2 separate regions of the Homo sapiens genome follow, and region 1 is linked to region 2. The links are contacts of gene promoters, found by promoter capture Hi-C in human tissues and cell types (Jung and others, 2019). All regions are on one chromosome and are shown on one strand. The core of a region is centred on a gene start or on the middle of the fragment in contact, and the rest is flanking DNA. Distances in the headings are between cores, read along the strand shown. Region 1 overlaps IGFBP-AS1 (IGFBP5 antisense RNA 1). Region 2 holds the start of IGFBP5 (insulin like growth factor binding protein 5).

Evidence for each region. Contacts are between HindIII fragments. The study calls those that stand out against the background at their distance.
Region 1: a fragment that was not itself captured here is called in contact with the fragment with the promoter of IGFBP5 in region 2 in 1 of the 25 tissues and cell types used here (ovary).

Annotation. Positions count from the first base shown.
Region 1 is chr2:216,739,529-216,746,746 of GRCh38, reverse strand. The region is part of intron 2 of IGFBP-AS1 (IGFBP5 antisense RNA 1); the gene reads right to left. Among named protein-coding and RNA genes, the nearest start is that of IGFBP5, 48 kb to the right of the region's middle. The HindIII fragment of the contact is 3,967 bases long and covers 532-4,498 here.
Region 2 is chr2:216,690,262-216,698,038 of GRCh38, reverse strand. IGFBP5 (insulin like growth factor binding protein 5) reads left to right here and starts at 2,490. Exons shown (of 4, transcript NM_000599.4): 1 at 2,490-3,600. The coding sequence starts at 3,264. It overlaps IGFBP-AS1 (IGFBP5 antisense RNA 1), which reads right to left and starts at 3,593. Exons shown (of 6, transcript NR_187138.1): 1 at 3,278-3,593. LOC124900515 (a long non-coding RNA gene) reads left to right here and starts at 6,475. Exons shown (of 2, transcript XR_007088080.1): 1 at 6,475-6,583; 2 at 7,612-7,777. The HindIII fragment of the contact is 12,405 bases long and covers 761-7,777 here.

The DNA of each region.
Region 1 (7,218 bases), core at 1,266-3,765, 49 kb before region 2:
CCCTTTCCCTGTGGATGTGGCTTCCTGTGAGCCAAACTGCCGTGATTGTCTCTCTCCAGAGTCTAGCCACCCAGCAAATCTACCTGACTCTGGGCTGGTACTGGGGGTTGTCTGCACAGAGCCCTGTGATGTGAACCATCTATGGGTCTCTCAGCTGTGTAGATACCAGCACCTGTTCCAGTGGAGGTGGCAGGAGGGTGCAATAGACTCCGTGAGGGTCCTTAGCTTTGGTGGTTTAATGCTGTATTTTTGTGCTAGTTGGCCTCCTGCCAGGAGGTGGCGCTTTCCAGAAAGCATCAGCTGTAGTAGTGTGGAGAGGGAACAGCGGCAGATGGGGCCCTAGAACTCCCAATATTGTATGCGCTTTGTCTTCCACTACCAGGGTGGGTAGGGAAGGACCATCAGGTGGGGGCAGGGCCAGGCGTGTCTGAGCACAGACTCTCCTTGGGTAGGTCTTGCTGTGGCTGCTATGGGACATGGGGGTGAAATTCCCAGGTCACTGGAGTTGTGTACCTAGGAGGATTATGGCTGCCTCTGCTGAGTCATGCAGGTTGTCAGGGAAGTGGGGGAAAGCCAGCAGTCACAGGCCTCACCCAGCTCCCACGCAAACCAAAGGGCTGGTCTCACTCTCACCGTGCCCCCCACAATAGCCCTGAGTCTGTTTCCAGGCAGAGGGCGAGATTGGGCTTGAAAACTTGCCCGAGGCTTTCCACCTCCCAGAGTATTTGGGGTGTCTCCTGGGTCCTGTGGGAGCAGTCTGCTTCCTTCAGAGGGTCTGTGGGTCCTCTCAGGACTGCTGGTTTGTTCTTGCAGTCAATCTGAAGCTAAAATTCACAATACAAGCCTCCACGTGGTGCTCTGTCCAGAGCTGCAATCTAGTCCTGCCTCCCATCTACCATGATCCCAAAATCCTCGGAGGATTGATTGTTGAAGGTGTCCAACATGATTCACAGCAGAGAAGGAAAGACCAAAGTCACCATATTGAAGCTCATCCAAGGCTACTTCTAAATACACTATGGGAAGCACAATCTTTTCGGTTGCTTTATGATCCAAATGAAATAAGAGAAAAGCAATGAAAACTGAAGGAAAATTTTGCTGACTATAAAGATAATTGTACCCTAACATGGATTAGGAGTTCCTTAGATCTTTCTGTCCGGGGTGAATTGTGGTCAGTTCTTCCTAGATGCCAAGAGATGCACCAAATATGGTTCCTCTTACCAAAAGGGTTTAGTATTTGATAATTCTTAATGGATCACTTTCTTCAATTTCTGCTTTCCTCTATAAAGCAAATTGACACACATTCCCATTTTCTAGAACCACAGCAGCCTCCCAAGTTAAACATAAACAGCCTTCTTCTTCACTTTCTCCAGGCTGGGCATGCTCATTAGTGGCATTGAGGAGATCCTAAAAAATATTCCTTTACAATGAATTGGGGGTTCATAGTAAAATGGAACTTTTAACAAGTACTGGTAGATCCTGTGATCCTGTTTCTGATAGTACTTAGTGTCTACCTTCCTATTTTCTAAAAAGCAATGCCAGGATGGGTCTTTAATACAATCTCTAAAGCAGAAGTATGTTGGCTAAACAAGGAAAAGGTGGTTCTTAGATGGGCAGGTATTGCGTTATTGAGGGAATGACCTTTGGAGAAGTAAAGACCCTTGTGTGAGCAGAAGTCTATGTGGAGCAGAGAAGCTTCCAACCTGAGTGTGGAGAGTTAACACATCCTGCCACTCAACTCCCCTCCTCTGGTCCATGGGGCAGGGAAGAAGTCATTCAGACCAAGAGGGAGAGGAATCCACCCTTCCTCACTCTCTAGCTCCCATAGAGACATCAGCTGCACTCAGCTGAGTCTAAAAAGACTAAAGACCCAGCTCTATGGGGTCTTCAAGGAGCAACCCACCAATCACTTTGACACAGTCTTGTCATGGCCCACAGAAGTTAGGAAAGAATAAAGATGTGAGTGGACCAGAAAGGCAAAAGTTAGTGGTCATAATTGGAAGGAAAAGAGGTTCTCCTCTTTGAGGTCATTTGCCTGAAGTGCTGGGAGGAAAATGGAAAACTTTTTCATGGCAATTATATTTGAGGAATCAACCGATGCCATTACTAACTGGTGCCCTTCCTGTACCTTCTTTGGAGAGCCCTTCCTAGCTGCTTCAGCTTCCAGCATCTGAGTTCTCAGGCTCCCCACCCAACTGTCCATAGAGGAGTATCTTCCTAACTAGGAATGAACAGGTGATGGGGAAGGGGTGAAGAAGGATAGAATCATTATAACGAAGTCTCTGGACAAAATTAAAGTGGAAAACCAATGTCATCTCTAGCTCACAGGACAACTAAGGCCCCAATTTGGAAAGATACATGATTCCAAGTCCTAAGTGGAGATGAGATTACGAAGTGAGACATGGATGCTAGGGGGAGAAGGAGTTGATGATTCTTACAATTAATTCTTTAAAAGCTATAACATATCAACAATTGGAAAAGGGAGCTAAAATGTCATCTTGAAAACCCCATTTTGCAAGTGAAGACACCCAGGTTCAGTTCACCCAGATGGCCTGCCAGAAGTAACATGGCAAGTCAGGGCCAGAGCCAGAGCTGTGGCCACAGGATTCTGAATCCAGATCCAGGGTTCTTTGCATTGTTCCATGTTCATATTCACTCCACATGTAAGCCCCTGCTAAGCCTCACTGGGACATTCCCCTCTCCCACAAACATCCCGCCTTGAGTGTGGATTATTTCTCATCAAGGCTATGCTTGATGCTATTGTACAGCCTGAGGTCATGCAATAGGGAGAGAAGCATGCACAGGGCAGGGAGTCAACCACAGAGGACTCTAGGGAAAGTCTTAGAGGAAGGGTGAATGGCTGAGAAATAGAGAAGGAGCAAAGACCTCAAAACATTCAGAGTGGAAAAGTTGAAAAGCTTACAGTGTTACTGGAAGAAAAGCTAAGAAAGATTCTGCTTTAGGCAGAGCTATAAAATGTAAACATTTGTGTTCTGTGCCCCAACCCTCCTTTTCTTTGCCTTTTCCTCTCTCTAACATTGAGTTTCTCTTCTTCAGGAGCAAAGTTTTCTGCCAAGAAGAATCTAATGAGCACCTCTGAAAATTCTATCAGGCAGATTACATAGGATGTCAGAACTAGAAGGGACCAGGACATAACATTGCCAACCCAGCCTGGAAAAATTTTTTTAATCTAGACGCTCAATAATAGGGATCATCATCACCTTTTGTTGAAGGCCACGAATGTAAATCTAAACCTTTAATAGCCTGCCTGGCATATTGCAAGCCCTCAGCAAAAAGGAATGAAACTATGGAGTTTCTCCCAGACTCTGCATCCCACCTCAGGAGAGTGTGGCCTCAGTAGGTATTTGCAGGGCGTGATCAAATGCTATTGCTTGCATATGTCCTTTCAGGGTACTCTGCCACAGGTTTCACCCGGGGGCTCCCCTCTGGTCACCCCAGGTATTTGGAACCGTATTCCTTCCAAGAGGTCATTATCCCTTCTCTACTTGAACTCAGGAGAAGTGGAGATGAGACAACACCTCCCCCTCCTTTTCCTTGGCCATCACAAGACTCACACACCAAGTTGCAGTTATATGCAAATTTCCTTGTTGAAGAATTAGGAAAAACTGGCCAGACACCGTGGCTCACGCCTGTAATCCCAGCACTTTGGGAGGCCAAGACGGGCAGATTATCTGAGCTCAGGAGTTCGAGACCAGCCTGGCTAACATGGTGAAACTCCATTTTTACTAAAAATACAAAAAATTAGTCGGGAGAGGTGGTGCACGCCTGTAATCCCAGCTACTTGGGAGGCTGAGGCAGTAGAATCACTTGAATCTGGGAGGCAGAGATTGCAGTGAGCCAAGATCGCACCATTGCACTCCAGCTTGGGCAACAAGAGCAAAACTCCGTCTCAAAACACAAACAAACAAAAAAAAGAATTAGGGAAAACTGAAAAGAATGATCATTTAGTCTGGACAAACTTCTGGTGAACTGTGAATAAAAACTCTCTCTCTCAGCTCCCAAGGGAAGGCATCTAAGGCCTAGGCTTTCTCAAGGAACACATCATCTGTGCAGGGCTGCCATATTGCACAACTCAGGGAAGCGCCATTCACATAACAGTCTGTGTGAAGGCTCCCCTGGCCCTGTGTGGGGCTTGACCTACCCATAGCTATCAAGGCAGTCTTGCGTCACTCCTAAGTTGACCCACTTGCACTCAGATCATTCACACGCCCTGAAGTTCCTGCTTCTTTAAGTCTCTGGGTCCTAAATACCACTCTCCTTCAGGAATCCTCTTCTCCTTTCCACACAAAAAGGTCTGTGTTCCCTAAATCATTCCTATGTTTTACTGACTCATGTAGACCTATCCGTGCAGCTATGTTGAGCATTGGTGTGTTGGCCTCTCTCAGTCTCAAAAGTACCAGTAGAAGAATGGCCTCCAGTCCCATAAGCAAGAGTCAATGTGGATCCTCTCATTCTCCTATCAGTGGTAGCTGTCCCAAAGACAAATGTTAAATGGGAGCGGGAGTGAAAAGGGTGCAGCGTGTACCACAATGGGAAAAAGCTCTGGCCCCACCCTTATGGTCAATGGGTATCCATTACTGTATGACAAGCATTTGGTTTCCTTGGGGCTCTCTTTTATAGACAGTCATCCCCACCAAAGGGCTACTCTGGGGTTTACTTGTTAACTCCATCTAACCAAAAGACTTTGATAATAACCTGCATGATCCCCAGATAGCAGAGCTCCTCCAAGTACATGCGTCTCAAGAGGGGCCATATTGTTGGGAAATTGGATCTTGGGGGATAAAAAAAAAATCTTAGCTATCGTGATGATTCATAGTCTCTAAAAGGTCACACTATATTAACAGATATAGAGTATATAGGGGAGAAGGGGAAATGATAAGGGAATCAATGACTTAAAAGACTCCTTAGGGGAGTGATAATTTTAAAAAGTTGAGAAACACTGCTCTAATAGAGGAGGGAAACAGGGATAGAGGGAAGTTGTCATTTTTAGTGCTATCATAGTTAGTGTTATTATTGATTACCACCATCGTTATTATCATAATTAGAAACATTTCATACCCATGCCCTAAGTTAATCCTGCTGACCATCTGAAGGTGTAGATACTATTATTCTCATTTAAGATGTTGAAACTGAGTTTTAGAGGTATTGTCCAAGGTCACACAGCTAGTAGTTGGCAAAGACATGATTTCAACCCAATTCTGTCCGACTCCAAAGCTCATGGTCTCAGCCATCCTAGAATATTGACTGTAAAAGGGAGAGTAGCAACAGAACAGCACATCCCTAAATCCTACCATCTACTCTACCAATCTAAGTCTAGCTTTCAGACCATGGAAAGCAGTCGGGTTGTAAGAAAGGAGACAGTCATATCCTGGAAAAACTCTAGGTTGGGTTGAGCATGGGGTGGAAGGAAGATGATCCTGCTCTTTCCTGAGTGTGCCCCTTCTTCCTGCCCTAGGAAGCACCAGCCTTTGGGACCAGGAGCCTGGAACCCAGGGCAGAGAGAGAAATAAGAAGTCCCTGGTGTGTTTTCAGCTACTGCTGCCGAAACCCCAGCTGGGGCTGCAGCCAAGCCCAAGAGATGAGATGACCTCTATACAAACAAAACTTCCCCAGGCAGTGCTTCTGCAATTATAAACATGGACTCACCACGTGATGGGTTCAACCAGTTCACATAAACACCAAAGAGAGAAAAAAAAAAAATCCAAGGGAAAAAGTACGCTTTAAAGGGACTGAGCAGGGTATGTAGTTTTGTGACTCAAAGAGGGGAAGATCAGGAGCCAAAGGGCCCTGAGTCTAGTGGGCCTGATATCAAGTCACAGGGGCTCTTCCAAACCTGTACACAGGAAGCCTGCACCCCTTCCCAGTGTGGGAATCCTTTGTCAGGGGCAGCAGATCCATGTATGGTTGGCTTTTCCTCTGTATCTGAAGCACATTGTGCTGAACATCCATGAAAAACACAAAGGGTAGTCCTGAAGCAGGAGGGCCAGCTGTTAAATATCAGAAGGACTGCCCCACTGCCAGGTGCTTTCGCAAAGGAAGGGTACCGCAAGAGGTTCATTTAAGCTTGGGAACTATTTAAGCTGAACTATTTGGATGTGGGGAATGGATGGGGTGAACTCTGAAGAAACAGCACACCCTTCCTCTCTGCCCCTACGTCCCCCACCCTGTTGCCTGTGCTGGCAAAGAGGACGTTTTCCTCTGCAGCCCTGTGTTATCTGTGGGAATGCTAGCAGAGTCTCTGTTGTTTTTGCAAATAATCCACACCACTCCTGCGAGAAGGGCCAGCTCTGCAGAGCATTTGCAAAGACCATGCTCTCCTGGACCGGAAGAGCCTTGACAGCACCATGACCCAAAATAAAGTGGCCTAGAAGAAGGTTAGCCACTGGACCTGGTGGGCTGTGGGGATGGGATGCTCGGTGCTGCTGTTATGGTCTCCCCAGTGTTTCCAGAAGAAACCACAGAGCTCTGAGAAGCCACAGCAGCCAGGGCAGTCAGACGTCTCCAATTCTGAACTGAAACAAGAGGACTGTGGATGCTGCTTGCAACCCCACCCCTGCATTGGGATTCATTCTGCAGGCGCAGCCTCCTGGCGGCTCAGCAGGGCACCAGAGAGGCCCACCTCACCTGCTTGGCTGCAAAAATAGCACTGAAACCCAGTCCAGCACAGGAATGGGAAATGGACAAGGGGAAAGACACATGAGCAGGCATAGCCTGCGGGAGACTGGAAGAAACTGGGAGGCAGTATAAAGGGGGAATAAGGACGGGTGGATTGCAATGTATCAACACTAGCAAACCGTACCTACATTGTTGCACCCATTTACTTTCATAATATCACACGCAGGCACTCAGGCCCCTCCACATGTGCCGAACCAGTAATAGGTAAGTCCTGTAACAACAGAAGATATTGGAGGCAACCCAGGCCAGTAGACTCCTAACTCTACCACGTATCTGTGTAACTTTGGGCGAGTAACATGACTCCTCTGTATGTCAGTTTTTAAATGGGATAAACAATAGTACATATCTCATAGACAAACTATGAGAATTAAATGAGTTAATATTTGCGAAGCACTTAGGACAGTGCCTGGCACACATCAAGCATTATTAGTATTTGTTCAACAAACATAGGCTCAAATGAACTTACCTCATATTTAATGTCAAAAAGCCCCTCACCCTATTCTTTTATTCATTCATTTATTTACT
Region 2 (7,777 bases), core at 1,241-3,740:
TTAATTATGGACTCAGAAACAACACCCATCTGGCCAGTCCTCCATCTTTGGATGAAATTACTATAGACAATCCCAGGCTACTGAGAATTCTTCTTTCTCTCATGCCCTCTCGGGAAGCCTATCCCAGGGTCTCTTGGACAACAGCTCCAGTGTCTGAATCCCTTATAACCTAAGCCCATTTCTAAGTGGAGATAAAGAATGGCTGCTTAGCACACCAACACAGCACATGTATACATATGTAACAAACCTGCACATTGTGCACATGTACCCTAGAACTTAAAGTATTAAAAAAAAAAAAAAAGAATAGCTGCTTAACATTTACAGTCTTGCAGAGTAACCTCTCTCCATGGCCCCTGTACTGCTCTGCCCCAGGGTCCGGCTCCCACCACATTCTCCTCCCCCCTTCTCTCTACCCTTTTTATCTTTTCTGTGAATGATCCCCCCTCCTTTTACCTGTCTTCACATATTGTATTATCCAGCCATTGGAAGTCGGCTACACAAAAAGAGGTGTCACTAGAGGCCATCTCTCTCAGAATACAGGGTGACTGGAACGAGGCAACTCATGTTTCTTTGGAAGGAGTACCACAATTTCCCCCAATCATCTTAAAAGCTACCAGTGTGCCTGAGGCAGGCTGAGCTGCTAAGGGTGTGCAGAAAGAAATAGGAGCAGGGAAGAGAACATACTGCACACATTCTGCTGCCACTCTTGTAGTCTGAACTTGACACAAATGACAAAATAACACATGATTTCCCTCACTTCTAAAATATTTCCACCAAAGTTTTGAATATTGATTTGTTCCTACCTTACCAAGCCCTCAGACTGAGAAAAGAAGAAATTAAGATGAGCCTTGCTGCTATTTTTTGTTTTAATCATTACACACAATGCTCCTCCCTCTCCCAGCCACCACGTGGCTAAACCCCCTTTGGCAATACAGGCAAAGACATAACTTTAGACGTTAACCTTGTTTTAAAATGTGCCTTTCGGCAAATAGATAAGTGAGAAGAGAGATCAGGATCTGGGGGTGTTAACGGCATAAAGTGAGATGCTCCTGAACTGAACGAGCAAGAAAAAATATTTTCTTGAAAGCAGTCCTCCAGAAAGAATTCTTATCATAGATAAGGGTGCAGTCTAGTGGCAAACTTCATGAAATGCAGCCCCTTCTCCAAAGGAAAGTTAGAATACTTCTCAAGGGAGGAAGCACAATGTAAAAGGTGTAACAGCCCACACCAAGTCCACCCAGCAGGGGCAGTGACATTGGTCATTTCTCTCTGACTTGCCTGTGAGGCTCATGGCTCACTCAGGTCAATTTCAGAAAAAGCTAAAACCACCACCTTCCTATTTCAAGGCCTTAGTTTTCTTTCATTTTATTAAAGAGGTTCTAGTGGCATGATTCGGTTCCTGGTCAGGACCTCTTCCAAGCAGGTCCTGTGGCCCTGTCAGCTCATATTCCTGGGATGTGCCTATAAGCACCAACTAACCTGTCAACCTATCACAAGGTCTCCTCCAGCTACTCTGCCACCCACTCCCTCCAGGGATGTGGCCCTGCCCAATAGAAATACCTCTGCAAAGTGACAGAGAGGGAAGTGTCACTCCAATCCACCTTTCTTCCCTCTAAGAACCCCACACACAAGGACACTTTAGGCCACCATGCAAGGTTTTCAGACTTAGCATTTCCTCCAAAGTGTCCATCTCTGCAACTCACTGCTCTCAATAATGCTGTTGTATGAATGTCCATTCCTGCAGATACACAACACACACACATACACACACACACACAGAGAGAGAGAAAGAGAGAGAGAACCTCCCTGGCCAACGCAGCTGAAGGCAACTGGTCACCTCTTCATCATGAGTACTGAAACCCCCTGATTAAATCCTCTTCTCCAGACTTTTAGGGGAGAAATTCAATTTTTTCTTCTTTTTTAAATTTAGCTCACCAGACATCACTGGCCATTCTACACTACCTGTCCCCCAAACACACACACACACACACCCCACATGGAAACAGACACCAGCATACAGTCAATTGCAGAAGCTTAGGAAGATTTCTTGGGCACGGTATATCCAGTTGGCTAATAAGAAAATACGTCTCCCTTCAGCCTGTGCCTTGACTACTTAAAGGATAGGAGGGAAGGGGAGACGAAGTTACTCTCCTCATTGTGTTCACCCTGCTCCGAAGAACTCTGTCTTCCACTGGCCCCTCCACCTCCTCCCCATTCTCGGTAGCCCCAGCCTGTCCCCCTTGCCCCTTTCTTACATTCCGGGGGGAGGAGGGCGCTGTTCAGAGGGGAGGAGGGCGCTGTTCAGGGAGCGAAGGGGAGCCCCCTTGTGTCTAGAAGGCCTCTCCCCACCCCCACCCCGTGTGAGTTTGTACTGCAAAGCTCCTTGGCATCCTTGCCTGAGTTGGGTGTTGGGAAGCTCAAATTGCAGCTACAAACTGGCTGGCAGCCAGGGGCCGGCTATTTAAAAGCGCCTGCTCTCCCGGAGCCCCGTAGTCTCTTTGGAAACTTCTGCAGGGGAAAAGAGCTAGGAAAGAGCTGCAAAGCAGTGTGGGCTTTTTCCCTTTTTTGCTCCTTTTCATTACCCCTCCTCCGTTTTCACCCTTCTCCGGACTTCGCGTAGAACCTGCGAATTTCGAAGAGGAGGTGGCAAAGTGGGAGAAAAGAGGTGTTAGGGTTTGGGGTTTTTTTGTTTTTGTTTTTGTTTTTTAATTTCTTGATTTCAACATTTTCTCCCACCCTCTCGGCTGCAGCCAACGCCTCTTACCTGTTCTGCGGCGCCGCGCACCGCTGGCAGCTGAGGGTTAGAAAGCGGGGTGTATTTTAGATTTTAAGCAAAAATTTTAAAGATAAATCCATTTTTCTCTCCCACCCCCAACGCCATCTCCACTGCATCCGATCTCATTATTTCGGTGGTTGCTTGGGGGTGAACAATTTTGTGGCTTTTTTTCCCCTATAATTCTGACCCGCTCAGGCTTGAGGGTTTCTCCGGCCTCCGCTCACTGCGTGCACCTGGCGCTGCCCTGCTTCCCCCAACCTGTTGCAAGGCTTTAATTCTTGCAACTGGGACCTGCTCGCAGGCACCCCAGCCCTCCACCTCTCTCTACATTTTTGCAAGTGTCTGGGGGAGGGCACCTGCTCTACCTGCCAGAAATTTTAAAACAAAAACAAAAACAAAAAAATCTCCGGGGGCCCTCTTGGCCCCTTTATCCCTGCACTCTCGCTCTCCTGCCCCACCCCGAGGTAAAGGGGGCGACTAAGAGAAGATGGTGTTGCTCACCGCGGTCCTCCTGCTGCTGGCCGCCTATGCGGGGCCGGCCCAGAGCCTGGGCTCCTTCGTGCACTGCGAGCCCTGCGACGAGAAAGCCCTCTCCATGTGCCCCCCCAGCCCCCTGGGCTGCGAGCTGGTCAAGGAGCCGGGCTGCGGCTGCTGCATGACCTGCGCCCTGGCCGAGGGGCAGTCGTGCGGCGTCTACACCGAGCGCTGCGCCCAGGGGCTGCGCTGCCTCCCCCGGCAGGACGAGGAGAAGCCGCTGCACGCCCTGCTGCACGGCCGCGGGGTTTGCCTCAACGAAAAGAGCTACCGCGAGCAAGTCAAGATCGGTGAGCGCGCTCAGTGTGCCAGTCAGTTACGCGGCGCACGGGCGGGGGACACGAGACCGGCTGGGCCCGCGCGCTTTGCGCAGCAAGTGGCTTCGAGCTGGGGTGCAGCTCGGGAGTAGTCGGGGAGGGTCCTTGCACCCCGGAATTGGAGCCCTGGAGGATCCTGCTACCCGGGGGAACTGTCTAGCCGAGTCTATCCCAGCTTTCGCTCTTTCTCCTTCCTCCTACCCACACGTTGCCCGCCCCCTCCCCCTACTCTGTCCGAATACTGATTCTGAGCTCTTATTCGGTCACAAGGTCCAAATCCCCTGGTACCCTATCTACAGTCTGAAAGAGTGTATGTTACATTATCAACTCCCTCCTCCACCCCCCTCGCGCCCCGCATAGGTTTTTTTCTGAACTTGGAAAAAAAATCTCTTTTGTTAAAATATTATTTTAATTGCGGCCTGGAGAGAGAGGCATTACCTATCTTCTGAGCTAATTCCACCTTTGTCCCTCTTGGCCCCTCCACCCCCGTGCCTCCAGACGTTTCTATCCCTCCACCCCTACACACACACCACAAACACCCCACATCCTTGGTAGCTAATGCCTTTCGGGTGGGAGCCCTGAAGCCCCTCCCATGTGCATAACCATTGCTTTTTATTGAAGATGATTGCCTGTGGTAGATGGTAAAACATATTTAACTGCAAAATGACTTTTATTTTATCCCAGGAAGGGAAAAAAATACTTTAGGAGTGCGGGGGTGCGGGGTGGGGGTGGGGAAGAGTAGAAAGGAAGGGTTTGGTATTCTGTGCCTGGTGTTCGTTTCTGAATCTAATTCCTTTTCCCCCTCTCCAATTCAGATTTTACCTAGGATGAAAGGTGGACATAGGGCTGGGAGGCAAAAGGGGATGTGAGATTCAGAGCTTTCAACTTCCTCGCCTATGCAGATTCCTGGCACCACCACCACCTCCACCCCCGCCCCGCAATTCCTCCCTCCGCAATCCCCCCACCCCGCCCTCCCCAATCTCTTAAACCAGATCACAAGTGGGTGTGGATTAAGTGCATGAGGGGCCCTGGAAACGCAGAATGCAAAATTCAGGGGGCGGAGACAGAAAAGCCACGCACTGGGAGCCTCGCCTCCGCTTGCCCCGCCCCCGGGTTGCGCCGCCCCCAAATTCTCGGCGCCAGGAGTCTAGGGTTGAAATGATTGACACAGCTACTTGTTCAATCAGAACAGTTCTACCCCCTTAGACTGAGTTTCTTTTTGGAAAGAGTTACCTGATCTTTAGTTAAAAAAAAAAAAAGTTAAATAAACTACATAAAAGTCTGGGTTCTAAGACGTCAAACTGGCTATTGATTCTCTCCAAAAGGGGTTAAAACTTGGCTAAACAATGTTTATTTGGCGTAGTTTAGTTACGGAGACAGTTTAGTTACGGGGGCAATCCCCTTCTCCCTCCCTGTCCCTTTCCGTTACTCACGAGCACCCTAACATGAGTTTTCTGAAGTGCAAATTTCAGTCACTATAGTGCAGGAGAGGAGTGCGTCCGCGCTTGCCAGGAGGCCGGAGAGCTTCCTGTGTTCAGCCTCAGTCCCCGCAAACCCTGCAGGGTTTGAGTGGCGCAGGGGCCAGCCCCTCTAGCTTTGCAAGAGGTAGTCGATCTCCAAACCTGCAAAAAGTCGATCTTTTTGCAGGTTGCAGCCTGCAAAAAGAGGAAAAGGGGAGGATGTGCAGGCTCTGGGAACCCCAGAGACCGGCTTGTGAGATTATTTTTATTAAGATCCACTTTTCAAAGGCGGTCCTGCCCGCCTTCATCTTGGGGGATGTGGATTTGGAAAAGCCTAGCGGAGAAGGAAAACATTAATTGATTTCCCGGCTTGGGAGCCACCGCCCTGGGTAACAATCCAGTCACACCGAAAGAACGTAAGGTGTCACTCAGCCGCATCCTGGCTCCACTTATTATTTACCAAGCGTGTAGTGTGATGTGGCTAGTGTGAAGGGTGTACACGCAGAGCGCACGCGCGCGCAATTGCTAGGCGAGCACGGAGGGCGCATCACACACACACACACACACACACACACACACACACACACACGACACTTCAGTCCCAAGCAAGATCCCCTGTAGAATTCCCTGCCGCCCCTTGCTCAACCCCCACCTTCTGAGTGCCTTTGGGCCAACCCGAAGCCGCCTCTTCTACCCGCCCCCTCCCCAGCACTCCTCTCCGACTCCACCCCGCCGAAGGCAGGTGCCCGGCCGGCTGCTGTTGCGGGTTGGCGGCGCTCCACCGCTGCTGGTGCCGACATCTTCTTCCCGAACAGATGGGATGGGAGTGGGCGCTCCTGGAAAGGGCGTTTTAGCCGGACAACCACTGGGCGGGTCCCCAAAAAGTTGGAGATGGTGTAGAGACCGTTCTTAAGGAGAGAGAAATGGACAGAGAGAGGGAGAGTGCCCTTTTGGTCCTTTAGCCAAAATTCCTGCTTCCCAACACACCTCCTACCTCCCTCCTCTCCCCCACCCCCGCCAAAATCTGAGCTTGCAGATATGGATTTGCCCCCTCCCTCCCGCAGTTGCAGCATACACACACACACACACACACACACACACACACACACACACACGACATATTATATCTATATAATTATATATTGTATATATGGTATATACTATATTATATATATTTATATGTAACCAAACATGTAGAACCCAAAAAAGGTGCATTTCTGGAATCAGAAATGGGGAGCAGAAGAGAGTGAGGTGGCAGGCAGCCAAAGCCTCTGGGAGGGAAAGGAGAGGGCGGAGGAGAGGGTGTTTTGCTAGGCTGTTGCTGAGCAACTGGAGAGGGAGTGGGCCCGAGAGCAGGGTGCTGAGAGCGAGCCTGGCTCTGCATTTCATTCTGGCCAGTTCAGGAGCAGAGATAGATACGGAAAAAAGAATGTGTGTGAGGCTGGAGGGAGATGAAAGACGGGAGTTATTTGATGGGCAAAGCTCAGTAAATAGCGGTGAGTGGAGGGAGTCAAGGAAGTACTGGGTTTGCTTTCGGGCATTTTTGGTGGGGAATGAGGTTTGATGGGCTGGTCCCCAGCATAGATACCGGGGTTCGGGTAGGTCTCCTCTGTGCTGGTGAGACATTCAGTTTAAGATGTAGGGAGCCGTGGGTTCTGGCTTTCGGTTCTGTCATTAAGAAATGAGACACCGTGGGACAAAAAATAGGCTTCTGGAAAAGAAAGCAAAAGCATTACCTAAATAAAAGTGAATTCAGCCTTTGCTTCTTTGAGGGGTTTGGCCTCCATCACCCTGGCTTCAACTCCAAGCCTGGTCTAAAATGCCATGTTGAAGTCGAGTTCCAGAGTTAGGTTTATTGGCCAAATTTATGTCTGGGTTGAGCAAGATCATGGAAAACTGAAGGAGCCAAATTCCTTTCCCACCCGCACCCCCTCCCTCTGAAACAAGTCTTTGAGAGGATGGCGTGCCCTGAGCCAACCAAAACGGGAGTTGGGAAAACGAGATGGGGCTTTAACTGGACTTTTCTCGCCACCTCCGCCCACCGCCCCCGCCCCCGCCCACCCCGCCCCCCCTCCCCCACCTTTCTGCTGTGTCAGCTCAGACTGGAAGAACAAGCAGAGTTAGCCCTAGTGAGAGCTCATATTCTTTCCATTTCTCTTTTTCCCCTTTCTCACCCCTCCCTCCTACTCTTCCCTCCGACCTTCTCCATCCACCCCCCGACCCCCCACCCCAACTCTAAGGCATCCCCTGAGGGCTTGAGTTTTAAGTCAGAGCAGCTGTGAGTTAGTCCCGGGGCTTGGGCTGGATTTGAGCAGGCAGGTGGGCCTGCAGCTGCAGAGGGTGGACCAGCCTGACCCTAGGAGCCAGAGGTCATCGTGAGGGTTACAGCAAAGGGCATGGGAGCAGGAATTCCCTGCAGAAGCCCTGGCCCCCTTAATGGAGCGAAGAAGCCAGCGGGAAGGGAAGGTAATACTTGTCTAAAGTTTCTACTTTGTACCTGAGCAATGCCTATGAAACTTTTAAGATATTTAGTGTGTGGAAAATAAAACTCTGGAGAAGAGATCACCACACTCCAGACCCACTACATCCAGAAACTGGAAGAAGATCATAAAGAGCAGGTACCAACCAGGGGCCAGAGCAGAAGGGAAGAGGGTGGGAGAATGGCTGCGTTGAGTCAAGCAGGCGATTTG